Regions from separate parts of the Homo sapiens genome. Here all the other regions are linked to region 4. Evidence: promoter capture Hi-C in human tissues and cell types (Jung and others, 2019). All regions are on one chromosome and are shown on one strand. The core of a region is centred on a gene start or on the middle of the fragment in contact, and the rest is flanking DNA. Distances in the headings are between cores, read along the strand shown. Region 1 overlaps C9orf163 (chromosome 9 putative open reading frame 163). Region 2 holds the start of PMPCA (peptidase, mitochondrial processing subunit alpha). Region 3 holds the start of ARRDC1 (arrestin domain containing 1). Region 4 holds the start of SAPCD2 (suppressor APC domain containing 2).

Evidence for each region. Contacts are between HindIII fragments. The study calls those that stand out against the background at their distance.
Region 1: a fragment that was not itself captured here is called in contact with the fragment with the promoter of SAPCD2 in region 4 in 1 of the 25 tissues and cell types used here (spleen).
Region 2: the fragment with the promoter of PMPCA here is called in contact with the fragment with the promoter of SAPCD2 in region 4 in 1 of the 25 tissues and cell types used here (lymphoblastoid cells).
Region 3: a contact is called between the fragment with the promoter of ARRDC1 here and the fragment with the promoter of SAPCD2 in region 4, in 1 of the 25 tissues and cell types used here (lymphoblastoid cells).

What each region holds. Positions count from the first base shown.
Region 1 is chr9:136,484,226-136,487,479 of GRCh38, reverse strand. C9orf163 (chromosome 9 putative open reading frame 163) reads right to left here. Exons shown (of 1, transcript NR_172629.1): 1 at 1,413-3,254. It also overlaps a transcript of SEC16A not described here. Among named protein-coding and RNA genes, the nearest start is that of C9orf163, 2.4 kb to the right of the region's middle. RefSeq lists an enhancer at 3,057-3,254. The HindIII fragment of the contact is 3,851 bases long and covers 1-3,254 here.
Region 2 is chr9:136,408,587-136,411,926 of GRCh38, reverse strand. It overlaps PMPCA (peptidase, mitochondrial processing subunit alpha), which reads right to left and starts at 1,269. Exons shown (of 13, transcript NM_015160.3): 1 at 1,188-1,269. The coding sequence starts at 1,258. It overlaps ENTR1 (endosome associated trafficking regulator 1), which reads left to right and starts at 1,313. Exons shown (of 10, transcript NM_001039707.2): 1 at 1,313-1,599; 2 at 1,688-1,837; 3 at 2,860-2,928. The coding sequence starts at 1,530. RefSeq lists enhancers at 1,031-1,080, 1,111-1,200, 2,051-2,210 and silencers at 1,411-1,500, 1,641-1,690. The HindIII fragment of the contact is 13,229 bases long and covers 1-3,340 here.
Region 3 is chr9:137,604,243-137,607,361 of GRCh38, reverse strand. ARRDC1 (arrestin domain containing 1) reads right to left here and starts at 1,676. Exons shown (of 8, transcript NM_152285.4): 1 at 1,527-1,676. The coding sequence starts at 1,644. It overlaps LOC124902318 (a long non-coding RNA gene), which reads left to right and starts at 2,024. Exons shown (of 3, transcript XR_007061885.1): 1 at 2,024-2,065. RefSeq lists silencers at 1,005-1,274, 1,285-2,414. The HindIII fragment of the contact is 21,275 bases long and covers 1-3,119 here.
Region 4 is chr9:137,069,236-137,072,534 of GRCh38, reverse strand. It overlaps SAPCD2 (suppressor APC domain containing 2), which reads left to right and starts at 1,978. Exons shown (of 6, transcript NM_178448.4): 1 at 1,978-2,645. The coding sequence starts at 2,075. RefSeq lists an enhancer at 837-1,816 and silencers at 1,921-2,330, 2,501-2,550, 2,601-2,650. The HindIII fragment of the contact is 19,800 bases long and covers 1-2,719 here.

The DNA.
Region 1 (3,254 bases), core at 500-2,999, 580 kb after region 4:
GGCTGCTGGCAATGCCGTCAATGTGCCCTGTGCCTCCGGGGAGGCCTGGTGTGGAGGATACGCTTGCCACCCTGTGAGGTCAGGTCCAGGAAGTCCTTGCAGGAGGCCGGGAAAGGGCAAGGCTGTCACCTTCTTTTACAGGGGAGGAGGCAGAGGCTTGGAAAGGCCAGGTAGCTTGCCCAAGGCTGAACACCTGGGTAGTGGCTGAGGGTCTCTGACTTCTGGAAGCTTGCAGTACAGCTGGACACACGGTAGTTAGCCCACCATTGCTGGAGCCATCTTACCTGTGCTCTGCTAGCCAGGTGGGCGCCCAAAAGGAGATGCCTTTGCCTGTGCTGGGAGGAGGCGCTGTGGGACCCATTCCCCAGCAGCCGAGAGCAAGGGCACATGTGCCAGGGCGGGGATGCACCTTCAGCCTCATGTCAGCCCTGGGAAGGCCTAGAAAGTGGACAGTGCTGTCTCGCTGCACACCCCTGGCGAGCACACCGGGCGAGCACTCCAGGTTAGGGTGGGGCTCAGAGGTGAGTAGAACACGGGAAGGGGGTGGCAGCGTGGTGAGCATGTTTGCGGACCCTATGCTGTGTGCTTGGCAGGCCTTGTGCATGGAAGTGAGTGGGACTGAAGCTCCCTCCACACTGCCCACCATGGCCCTGGGGGTCTGGCCTTCCCCTCACAGAGGTGACTTCCTCTCCTCTATGAGGGTAAGAAGAGGAAGCCTGGCCCACCCTCTGGCCAGCCTGGTGGCATGCTGACAGGGAACCCCTGCAGGGGCCTGATGAACAAACGCCACAGAACAAACTCTACGGACCCTGCCTCCAGATCTGCTTCCTCTCCCCTGATTCCAGCTTCCCAGCCCTATTCCCTCCTCCTCCAGGAAGAGCTCCGTGTCAGTGCTCTCCACCTTGGAGGCCTTCATATGTTTTTTTGCCTGGACCACCCAGCTAACCGTCTCACAGAGACTGCCCCTTCCTCTCTCCAGGCCAAGCCTCCAGCTTCAGCGTCCAGGACTAAGGGTCTGTGTCAGGGGCTGAGGACAGTGTCCGGCAGGGAGCAGGCCTGCCCAGTAAACCTCCACAAGCACCCAGACATACTCGCCACTGCTATTTTACACCAGGTAGGAAAGAGGAGCAGAAGCTCACAGTGAGGGGCCGTCCTGCGTTCACTGAGACTGCTGCTCTGCTGGGGGCTCCCTGGAGGACCGCCACTGGCCCGCCAGTTGTCAGCAAAGAGCCAGGTCCACCCATCAGCCTCTGGCATTTCAGGCCCCTATCATAGGAGGCTATAAGCACAGGCTAGGGGTGCTGAGTGCCTGCCTTCTAGACCAACACTGTCCAGTGGAAATGTAACACCAGCCCCATGTGGAGTTTTACATTTCCCAGCAGCTATGTCAAAAACAAAAGAAACAGGTGAAATAAAATTAAATAGTATTTTGTTTAATCTGATACATCCAAGATATTGTCATTTTAATATGCAATAAAAAATGATTGATTCGATATTTGCATCCTTCACAACCTACCATGTAGTTTACACTCAGAGCCCAGCTCAGTCTCACAGCAAGCACCAGCGGCCCCCGTGCTGGACAGCATGGCTAATGGGAGGAGCTGACCCGTCGGAGGCACCAAGGTCACGCTGTGACCAAGGCTGTGGTGACGCAAAGGCAGCGGGTTTCCTGGCACAGCCTGGAGGTGCACCAGCCTGTCCTGTGTGCTCTGCATAATGTGGTACAGCAGTGGTCACAGAGCTTTGCACCAGATGCTGATTCCAGCCCACCTAGGGGGGTTCAGGGAAGTGGTGACACTTGTGTCCAGCCTCCAGGTGTGAGCAGGGGCAGAGACTTGGAGAATGGAGAAACCAGCGGATGCTGCAGGCAAAAGCAGCAAAGCCCCACCAGGAATAGTGATGGCCACCACCGGCGGGACACCTCCCAGCACTGGGTGGAGGCCTCTGCTGGCTCGCAGTCAGTCACCTGATGTCCCCATTCGCCCCTGCCATGCTTGTTGTCCTGGCAACCCCATTTCAGCCCTGAAACGTTTAGGTGCTCATCTTGCTCTATCTTAGAGATGAAGACCTGATGCTCAGAGACTAAGGAAGTTGAAAAAGGGCACACAGCGTCTCAGGGGCAGGCTGGGCCTTCAACGGAAGGGTCTATGGCCCAGAGGCTGGATGGGCTCGGGTGTAGGGTGCAGGAACCCTCCACTCCACATCAGGCTACAAACTGCTGAGAGCTGTCTCCGTGCACTCAGGATTAGGGAGAAGAGGGGGAAGAAAGACAGCCGCGCCCCCTGCAGGTGATGTGGTGATTCACACCCCTAGGAGCCAACAGAAGCCGCTGTCTAACATCCCTGCCCTGAGGTCCAGAGACCTTGCATTTTATGCCTAGGGCAGGGTTGGTTTCTGCAGCTATGGTCTCTCCCATAGCTTAGTGCCCACCCCGGTGGGACCACAGGGTTTCGGAGGACCCTAGAGGGTCGAGCCCTGGGCTCCTGGCTCTTGGGTTCTTTGAACTCGCGAGCGGCAAAAGGCGAGCCCCACGCCTGAGAGGCAGCATCCACCTCTGCATCCCCCTCTTTGGAAAGGGCAAACAATGACACCTCCTTCCGCGGAGGGTGCAGAGCGCCTCGACCACTGGGAAGAAGCAGATGGGGGCAGCGGGGCTGGGGCTGGGCCCTACCACGTGCTCCCTAACTCTGTTCAAACAGGTCAGGAATCTGACTCCTGAAAGGCAAATGTTAGCTGAGCAGATTGGCCCTGGTGCCACGTCAGCCGGACTGAAGCTCTCCCTGCACCGCCTGCGGCCCTGCTGGCGTGGCACGGATATCACCCCCTCCCTCACCAGCCGCCGGCCCAGCTGGGGACAAGGGTGGCTCCCACCCAGGGAGGACCTCAGCCGCTGCTGGGAGCTCAGCCTCCCGCGATGCCATCGGGCGGGCACCCCCACCACGGCGCCTGCCCTCTGGAAGGAGCAGCAGAGGAAGGCCGCGGCTCTTCCCTGCCCTTGCCAGGCAGGTGTGCAGGTGAGTGGGCCCGGCATGGCTGGCCGCTTCCTCAACCGCTCAGCCTCCCTCGGCTCCTCCGAAAAATGAGGGCACAGAGGATAGTGCCCACCTGTTCCCTGCGATCTTCCGCGGGAGGGCGTGGATGCTGCCTGGCCTGGCCGTGGCAGGCACAGGAGCGCCTACCCGCCTCACCCCTCCGCTGGGTCGCTCTGGCCGCCCGAGCGCCCGGGCCCACTCGCCACCGACGTGCACTCAGCC
Region 2 (3,340 bases), core at 20-2,519, 660 kb after region 4:
GTTAGTTATGTTTTGTCTGGGTTAAAAGTGAGCATCTGCCTTTCTACAGGACTTATTTCTACAGACTTTGGAAGACAAAGCAGAGGCTGACAACAAAGGCTCAGCCACGGGACCTGGAGCAAGCTGGTTCCGTCCTTTGGGTCTTAGTTGCTATCTCTGTAAAAACAGGGCTTATTAACAGTAACTCACTCTAAGTGCAGTTTGTACACATAAAGCACTTAACAGCTCTGCCCTCCAACAGCACCACCGAAGTCTTGGATAAAAGCCATATCCCTTATTAACCTGGTCCGAAGGCGGGGTGTGACTTGGCCTCTGTCTCCCTCTCCAAACTCATCTCTTGAACCCCCACACTCCCATAGGTCCTGGTCACACTGATTCTTGTCAATTCCTGGAACACATTTGACTCATCAACCCCAAAGCTTCTTCACCGTTCCAGGGCTTGCCCTTTGCCCATGCCTACCCCTTCTTTCATTCTTCAGCTCTTCCCTTAAATGTCACCCTGATGGAGGACTATCCCTCACCAGTCTAGTCTTTCCTGCTATTTTCTATCATGAAAGGCTGCTTGTTTACTCCAAAGCATTTACGCGACTGCCGATATTTTGTTTACGCTCCAGCCTGTATCCATCTCCTGGAGGCAGCACCTCCGCACCCCTGAAACGGCGCTCGTTGTGTGGGGAGGGGCGACGCCTGTGCTGTCGGAACAAAGTTCCAGCGTGGGGAAAGGCAGGCCCGGTCACTTGGGTGGGAGGAGCGGTGGGTACGGAAAGGGTTCTTAAACGTCAGAGATCAACGGACAGACCGCAGCAACCGAGAGCCTGGACCCTGGTGTCAGAACCCTGCGGGTCTAACAGAGCTGGGCCCCCACCGGCTCAGCCTCCTGAAGGAGCACGCGGTAGGTGAAGCGCGGGGGCAAATATGAGGCATGGCCTCGGAGAAGGCCCGTCGACCCGGGAAGTGAGGGGGGGAGAGGACCCAGCAGCCGGGGAGAGGAGAGACAGATGGGACTGCGTCCCCGGGCTCGAGGCGCAAAGCAAGGCAGGGCCCCCGTCGCCTCGGGGACACCAGTGTCCCGAAGTGCGAGCCCGTCCCACGGGCGCCATGTCACCTGTAGAAACCGAAGACGGAGCGTCCAGAAAGACTCGAGCCGCCCCCGCCCCAGGCCGAAGCCTGGTTCGCCTTTGGCTCACCTCAGCCGCGAACAGCCCCAAGAACCCGAGCCCCGCAGCAACCGCGTCGCCGCCAGCACCACAGCCGCCATCTTGCGTCTCCGCCCCGCTTCAGTCGTCACTTCCGCTTCCGCCCACGGCTTCCCCTCCCCCTCGCCGACGGCCCAAGGCGTTCAGGCACGCGCTTTCGGTGCTCGGAGCGGAAGCAGCGGCGAGAGGCTCGGAGGCGCGGGGGCGGCCGAGCGGCGGGCGACGGGGGCGGGCGACGGGGGCGGGCGACGCGGGCCGCGGCACGGGCGGAGCCGGGGCCATGGAGCCGCCGCTGCCGGGCTAGGCAGGTCGTGCCCCGCCGGGCCGGCGGCGATGTCGGGCTACCAGCGCCGCCCGGGCGCCACCCCGCTGTCCCGAGCCCGGAGCCTCGCCATTCCCGACGGTGAGCGGGGCAGGGGCCGAGTCCAGCGGTCCAGGTGGGCGGCGGCCGCCCCGGCACGCAGTAAAGTCGCTGTTGTCGTTGCTTCCAGCTCCAGCGTTCTATGAGCGCCGGTCTTGTCTCCCCCAGCTAAATTGTGAGCGCCCCCATGGCAGGGACCTGGACTCCCCCTTCTTCGGCATTCGGCCGGCCTTTATGTGCTATGTGCCCAGCCCGGTGCTGGCTTCCGTGGGAGACACAGGTGAGAGACGAGGGCGCCGGCCCCGGGGACGCTTCCAGTTCCCGCGCCACGTGTGGCACCTCCGCTGCAGCACGAGCTCGTCCATTGACCCATCAATGTGCAGAGCGCTCACTGCGTGCCAGGCACTCGGAATTCAAAGGCGGAGTCCCCTGCTAGGAGCTCACAGTCTGGTTGCGGGGAGACCTCCCCCAAGACAGACAGTTCCAGTACAGGATGGTTAGTGCCCGGGGAGCACAGGAGCCCGCCCGCTTTCCTCGTGGGGCTGGAGTCGGGGTGCCTTCACCTAGTGGGCAGTGATTGGAAACCGAGCTGGAGCATTCCATCTGCCTCCACAGCCGGGCAGTGGCCAGATCTGGTTCGTCCTCGTTCTACCCAAGCAGAAGTGCTGCTGGGTGCCCGGGGTGTGCAGGAGTGTTTGTGTGGTTATGCCAGGATCTGAGGACATTCGGGGGTTGTCACAAGACAAGAGGACGCGCTTGCCCCGGCTGGGCTTCAAAATCTGCTGAGGAGCCGCTTTCAGACCACGGACACCAGGGCCAGTCTGCAAGTCAGGCCATCTCCAGGGTCACAAGTCTGGGAGCTTGTGTTTTTTTTAAAGTTTTCTCGGCTGACCGGGCGCAGTGGCTTACGCCTGTAATCCCAGCACTTTGGGAGGCCGAGGCAGGCGGATCATGAGGTCAGGAGATTGAGACCATCCTGGCTAACAGGGTGAAAACCCGTCTCTACAAAAAATACAAAAAAATTAGCCGGGCGTGGTGGCAGGTGCCTGTAGTCCCAGCTACTCGGGAGGATGAGGCAGGAGAATGGCGTGAACCCAGGAGGCGGAGCTTGCAGGGAGCCGAGATCGCACCACTGCACTCCAGCTTGGGCGACAGAGCAAGACTCCGTCTCAAAAAAAAAAAAAAAGTTCTCTAGACTGTGAGAACCACTGCAGTGGAGACTCCATGTGCAAAAGAAAAAAACCAAATGTGAGGTCATAAAGACTTCCTGCCAGCATGGTGGGTGACATTGTTTCTTTGCAGATTTTGGCTATGGAAAGGGGAAATGTTCTAAGCAGAGCCCGTCAGGAGCCCACGGGACACATTTTGGAGGTAGAGTAGTTCAGCAACCTTTTCTTCTTGTCTCCATCCAACACAGTGCCAGGCACGTGTCTGGTGGGACTGTCAATGTGACTGGCTATGTGGTGTAGCTGGAGCCCAAAAGAGCAGGTGGGGGTGGGATTTCAAGGGTTCAGTCTTGATCCTAGAGTAGCAGCGAGGTGACATCAGGGAGCGGGGAAGCCCCACCTGGGGGGCTGGGGCCACAGGAGCCAGCTTTACATGGGGCTCACAGCTGGGAGGGTCGAGTGTGGCTGCTTAAGTCCCCGGAGGGTGGGAAGGCGGTGGCAAGAGGGAGAAGGGAAAAGTGGGCGTTATTTAGGCTACCTAGGTAGGAAAGTCGGGAAGAGGGTCAGGGGGCACTGGGTCCCCAGCGTTGCAGCACCTGAGGAGCTGGTTGTTGTTG
Region 3 (3,119 bases), core at 427-2,926, 540 kb before region 4:
AGGGCTGCTGTCCTCCTGGGGGCTGAGGGCCTCCCTACTGGCTCCTAGCAGGATTGACAAGCATCCTCTGAATGAGGAAAAGAAACCATGGTCCTTCTGTTCCCATCCCAGGCAGGGCTGGGGGAAACCCCCGGGGGCCCCGGTACACCCTCCCACCTCACTTGCAGCAGCCTGAATCATGTGCTCTCTGGCCCATCAGGGCCCATCTCCTACTCCTTAGCTCACGACCCTCCTTTTTCTCCCTCATTCAGACCAGCCTCTGTGAGGTAGGACCATCAGCCAGTGCTCCCTCGGCTCTTGGGCCAGCTGCCCAAAGTGCTGGGATTACAGGCGTGAGCATTCAACCCACCCACCACGTCCACCCGGAGGCCAGGGGAGCCTGCACACCCAGGCCAGTCACGCACCGCGGGGCCGTCCCTTCCCTGTGGTAAGCAATGGCCTGCTCACCCCAGGCCACGCCAGGGGAAGGACGACAGGGTCCTGCACAGCCCTCAACCAGGATCCAGCCGGCCTCACCACACACCACACCTGTACCCAAGAGATGTGTGTGCTATCTCTGCCCTGCCACGGCCACACCTGCCCCCACCCAGACCCCAAACTCAAGGTTGGGACAGAGGAAGGGAGGCTGTGGGGTCATCCCAGGAGGCCCAGTGGGGCCAGGAGCCTGACAGAAGCACCTACCACCCGGCTTCTTCCGAGGCCCCACAGCCTCAGGCGGTGCAGGGTCAGGGCCACAGCACCATCACCTGTCCCAGGAGGCTGAGAGGACAGAACAGAGACTGTGGGTTCTCAGCAGGCACAAAATCGGTGCTGTTACCCACGCGCGGGCCCAGCGGTCAAGGTCCAGCGGCAAGTCCAGGGGCTGTGGCACAGGCCAAGCAGCCCAGGTGGTTCCCACAGGAGGCCAAGGTAGAGAAGTCCCCGGCAGGGACGCGGCACTCACAGCCAAGGGCCGGGCAGAGGCAGCCTCACCTCGCGGGCCGGCCCTCACCTCCAGGGCGCCCTGCCAGCGGCCACTGCAGCAACCCGATACCCAGTCCCCGAGGCCCAGGCGTCCACCTCGGCGGGGGGCCGGCGAGGCCTGCTGGCGGGTGGCAGGGGGCGCAGGGAGCCGCAGCAGGTGTCTGCACCCCGCCGGGACCGCACGCCCGCGCCAGGAGCGGCTCTGCAGCGGGAGCGCCTGCGCCGGGAGCCAGGGTGCGGGAAGGAGCCCAGCAGGTGCGAGCGCGGACGGGGAGGGTCGCAGGCCTGCGTGCGCCCGCGCTCAGGGCGTCCTCCACAGTGGACCCGCTTCAGGCCCCGCCGGGACCCCGCCGCCCCTCGGCGAGAGGGCAGGAAGGGCAGACGCGGAAGGGCGGCGCCGCCCGGACCTCCCCGGCGCCGCCGAGCCCGCTTCCCAGCAGTCCCGGGCGGCGAAGACAGCGACTCCGCGGGCCCAACCCGGGGCCAGGCGACGGCAGCCGCTTCCGGGAGCCCTGGCCCCGCGCAGGTGCGGCCAAAGGCCCTCCCCGAGGACCCGCGCCCACCTCGGAACGGCAGCGGTGCCCCCAGGCGCACGCGCACGGTCCCAGCCAACGGCTCCCCGGGGCTGTAGACGACGCGGCCGTGGCTCAGGCTGATCTCGAAGAGCTGCACTCGCCCCATGCCGCGGCCTCACCGGCCAGCCGCGCAGCGACGCCCCCGCCCGCCGCCCGCGAGTCCCGGCTCCGAGGCCCGGCCCCGCCCCCTCCTATGCCCCGCCCCCATCCGTCCCAATCCCGGCCTCCACCCCCATCCGGCCCCTCCCAGGCCCTGCCCCGCCCCACGGCCCCGCCCAGCCCCCCGGCCGCCCCGTAGCCCGCGGACTGCCGCTCGGAGGCCCGGCCCAGCCCCTATTCCCCGCCCCATCCGTCCGTGTGGCCCCGCCCCCTCGTTATTCCCCGCCCCTCTGACAGCCTCCTCGCCCCGCCCCCGCCCTTCGCCCCTGCCTCGCCTTCCCAGCTCCGCCCCTGCCTCGGCCGCCCCACCCCTGCCCCGCCCCCCGGCCGCGCTCATCCATCCCCGGCCCTGGCCCTGTCCCGGCTGGGTAGGTGCTGCGCTGCGTCGGGCGCCGCTTAAGGGACTTGAGGCGCAAGCGTCCCGTGCGTCCCCCACGGAGGGAGTCACCGCCGCGTCTCCGTCGGGGGGCAGGGCTGGGGGCGGGGCCGAGGCGAGCTCTGAGACTGGGAAGGTCTCCCCGCTGCACTCTGCTGCGGGCAGAACCCACTCCTCCGCCCCCACCCTCCGCCCGTCCCGCCCAGGGGTCTCCCTCACCCCGAGTCGCGGAAAAACGTCACGGGGCCGCGCGGGCGTCCTGGGCGGGGATGCTCCGCCGCGTAGGACCTGCCCCGCCTCAACCCCCACCCCCGGCTCCTGCCCCGCACCCCCAACCTTCTCCGCACCTACCTCGCGTCCCAGCACCTGTCGCGCCCCTCCGGAACCTGCCCGCCCTCCCGCCTTCCCGGTACCTGCCTACCCCCGCAACTGTCCCGGCCCCCAACACCTGCATCGCCCAACCCCTTCCCCCCCCGCCCCCTGCCTTCCCCGCACCTGCCCGGAGTCCCAGCACCTGCCCCGCCCCCCGCTATCCCCCTCCTTGCTGGCCTGATGGGGTGTGGGCCCAAGGGAGCCACACTTGGGCGGAGGCCCTTGGGCAGGGGTCCGCAGCAGAAGGGTCGGGGGCCAGGTGGGGCGAGGACTTGGATCACTTGAAACCAGGAGGAACACACTCCCATTTATCTTTTTTAAAGGGTCCCTTTGTAGAGAGTGAGCCGCGGGGGGTGGGACTCAAATACCCAGGGGACCTAAGGCGGGAGAGACCGGTTGGGTAGTCCTGGAGAGGGAAGGCGTCGCTCGACAAGGACCAGCTCACCACGGAGTGGGTGTGCGGGCCCCAGTGCTGCGAGTTTTTCTAGGACAGCCGGTGAAGAGGGTGGCCTTCTCTGATGGGGAGGACGGACCTAGATACACATGGTTTGGGGGTGGGAGGGTCATCACATGCAGAGTCTGAGGTGCCACTGATCCCCAATGGACCAAGTACTTCCGTGCATGAGCCTGGGAGTCAAGCACTAAAATGTTGCCATCCCTAGTTGGTAGAAGGT
Region 4 (3,299 bases), core at 729-3,228:
CTGGCCTCCCCTGCCATACCACTGAGCTGTTCCCAGCCCTTCCCCATCCCTTAGGCCTCAGCCTGGCTTGGTGCCCACTCAAGGATGGTGTTTCCCATATGATTTCACTGGATACGGCTCCCCAGTGCCATTCACAGAGCACCCACTGTGGGCCAGGCCAATGCCAGGCCTAGAAGGAGCCCTGTCCTGCTTGCAAATAGCCAGGGCCCCCTGGGCCAGGAGAAAGCTGTCCCCTGTGTTTTATCTAACTAGGCTTCAGGGGGAAGGGGACTGGGGCCAGAGCAGAGTTCTGAAGGATGTAGTGCGGTCAGCCTGGAGCAGAGGGGAAGGGCCTTCCTGGTAGAAGAGCCACCAGGCACAGGGGCCTGGAAGTGAGGGAGTGCAGGGACCCCAGGCCTGGCACTGGCGGTGAGGGGTGTGCTGGAAGCAGGGTAGGTGTGGGGATGGGGGGGCGGGGGCTTGCGTGTTGTGCTGGTTTGTTTTGTTTTGTTTTGTTTTTGAGACAAGATCTCGCTCTGTCACCCAGGATGGAGAGCAGTGGCTCAATCACAGCTCACTGCAGCCTCAACCTCTTGGGTTCAAGGGATCCTCCCACCTCAGCCTCCCAAATACCTGGGACCACAGGCATGCACCACCACGCCTGGCTAATTTTTTAAACTTTTTGTAGAAATAGGGTTGCCTTATGTTGCCCAGGCTGGTCTTGAACTCCCCAGCTCAAGTGATCCTCCCGCCTCGGCCTCGTGCTGGGTTTTTGAGCAGACCAGCCATTAAAGGGGAAGCTGGCTTACAGGACCAAGCTCTGATGGGCTGCTCCAGGCTCAGAGCTTCTTATGTCCTTCCAGCATTCCCTACGATGAAGGAGTCCCACTTAGAGTGAGTGACCCAGAAGAGAAGTGGACCCAGGATACTCCCTGGCCTGGGAAGATGCCTCTACAGCTTGAGACACAGGCACCAGTGGCTCAGGCCTGAGGACAGAGACCCAGGTAGGTATGCCAGCTGAGGCCTGCCCAGGAGGGAGGGTGGGAGACCCGCAGAGGGCCAAGGCAAGTCTCGGATTGGGGGCCTGTCTGGGGAGGGTGTTTGCACCCTGAACACCTCCCTGGAACCTAGAGGGTACTACTGGCCAGCCCTGAGATGGGCTCCCAGGGCTAGAACCCAGGCTAAGGCCTGGTCTCACCTCCCATGTGGACAGACCAAATGAAGACAGAGTGACCAGATCCCAGCTGGAAACACAGCAGAGGCAGGGGGACAGGGCTGCGGGAGCCAGGAGAGCAGCTGGAGGAGGTGTCCAGCCAGGGGAAGGAGGAGAGGAGAGCAAGAGGCAGAGGGAGCTGGTCACTAGATGGGGATCTGGGGACACAGGAGAAAGTGGCTTTGTTCTGCAGCAGGCAGGCCAGGCCAGACTGTCCCGAGGGACCAGAGGAGGAGCCAGCAGCAGTGGGGACAGAAAGGCCTCTGTGAGTGGGAAGCGCCCAGCTGGCTGGAGCCTACGATCCTCTTGGGGCCCTCCTGGTGGAAGAGAAGGGGGCCGCAGGGTCACCTGTGCTTGCGGCCAGGGAACTAGAGGGGAAAAGTGGGATCTTTGGAGGGGGTGCCCCCCCCCATTCTTACCCCACGAGGCTACCTGGAGACAGGTTTTTTTGTAGGGTGCCAGGCCCCGCCCCTTGGAGAGGTGGCCGGGGCAGCCAGCCACAGCTGGATCCGAGAAAGCGCCTGGCCGCGGCAGGAGGTTTGGTGGGGCTGGGGCGGGGCAGAAAGGAAGGTCTGCGAGGCCAGAGTGGAGCAGGAGCTGGGGGATCCGGTTCCGCCTGCCCAGGGCCTCCGCGCGCCTCCCAGGGCCACTCGGCAAGAAAAAAAAAAAAAAAATCAAACCTCCTCTCAGCCTATCAGAGAGCAGATGGGACGGGCTCGGCCAATGGCCGCGGCGCATGTTAATGAGGGCTGACGCCGCGAGGAGGGCCCCATTCAAAAGTAGTCGCTATTGTCGCCGTGGGCTGAGCTCGCCGGGCCGGCCCCTCCGTGGGGCCGCGCTGGGACGCACGCGGGTGGACGAGGGGACCGATCCCGGGCGCCCATGGCCGGGGCCGCCATGGCCGAGCGGGGCCGCGTGCCTCCCCCCGCACCCGCGCCCAGCACGGAGGGGCTGCCGCGCGCCTTCCTGCAGAGCCTGCGCACCCTGTTCGACATCCTGGACGACCGGCGGCGCGGCTGCGTGCACCTGCGCGAGATCGAGTCCCGCTGGCAGGGCACCGACGCGCGGGAGCTGCCCCGCGGGGTGCTGGAGGGCTTGCGCCAGGTGGCCCCGGCCAGCGGCTACCTGACCTTCGAGCGCTTCGTGGCCGGCCTGCGCACCTCCCTGCTGAGCGCCGACGGCGGCCCCCGGGACCCCACGCGCGCCCCGGCCCGGCCCGGGGATCAGCCGCCGCCGCCGCCGCAGCGCCTGGTGTTCGCTCCGGCCGACGAGCCGCGGACGGTCCTGGAGAGGAAGCCCCTGCCCCTGGGCGTGCGCGCCCCTCTGGCCGGTCCCAGCGCCGCCGCCCGCAGCCCGGAGCAGCTGTGCGCCCCGGCTGAGGCGGCGCCCTGCCCCGCGGAGCCCGAGCGGTCCCAGAGCGCGGCGCTGGAACCGAGCTCCAGCGCGGACGCAGGTGAGTTCCGGACGGCCCCCGGGCACCCTCGTAGCTCTCCCGGGCCCGGGCCAGAAACCGCAGTCCCACAGCTGCTGCCCGTGCATTTCCCACAAGGGACGGGACCGGGGAGCGGCTCTTCGTGGACTCCGGATCCTGGAGGGCGCCTCGGCGGGTCTGGAGGGAAAGGGCTTCATGCTTGTCGCGGTGAGCCCAGGGGCTTGCTTAGGGAGGCAAGCCAGACCCTCTCCTGCCACAGCATAAGGCCACCAGGGCCGGGGGGTGGCAGGTGACTCAGAAAACCCACCGGGAGCCCAACCTGTACCAAGCCTGAGCTTGGGCTCTCCATCTCCAATACCCTTTCCGCACCTGGGGACACCTGGGCCCTCAGCCTCCTGTCTGTGGCTGCTCAGGCAGAAGTGCTTCCTTCTCAAAGAAAGGGTCCCCCTTCTCAGTGTGACAGCTTAGCCAGGGGGGCTGGGCCCACTGACCCCACTGAGGCCTAGGCAGGCGGGGGCTGCTGCTGGTGGCCCAAGAGGACCTGGCCCTGTTGCCAAGATGGGCAGGGGCGTGGGTGGATCTCCTGCACCCCAGTGGGGCTGTACTATGGCAGATGCCATGGAGGGACATAGGCCGTAGTCCCTGGGGATGGCTGGCACACTCCTCTCCTGCCTT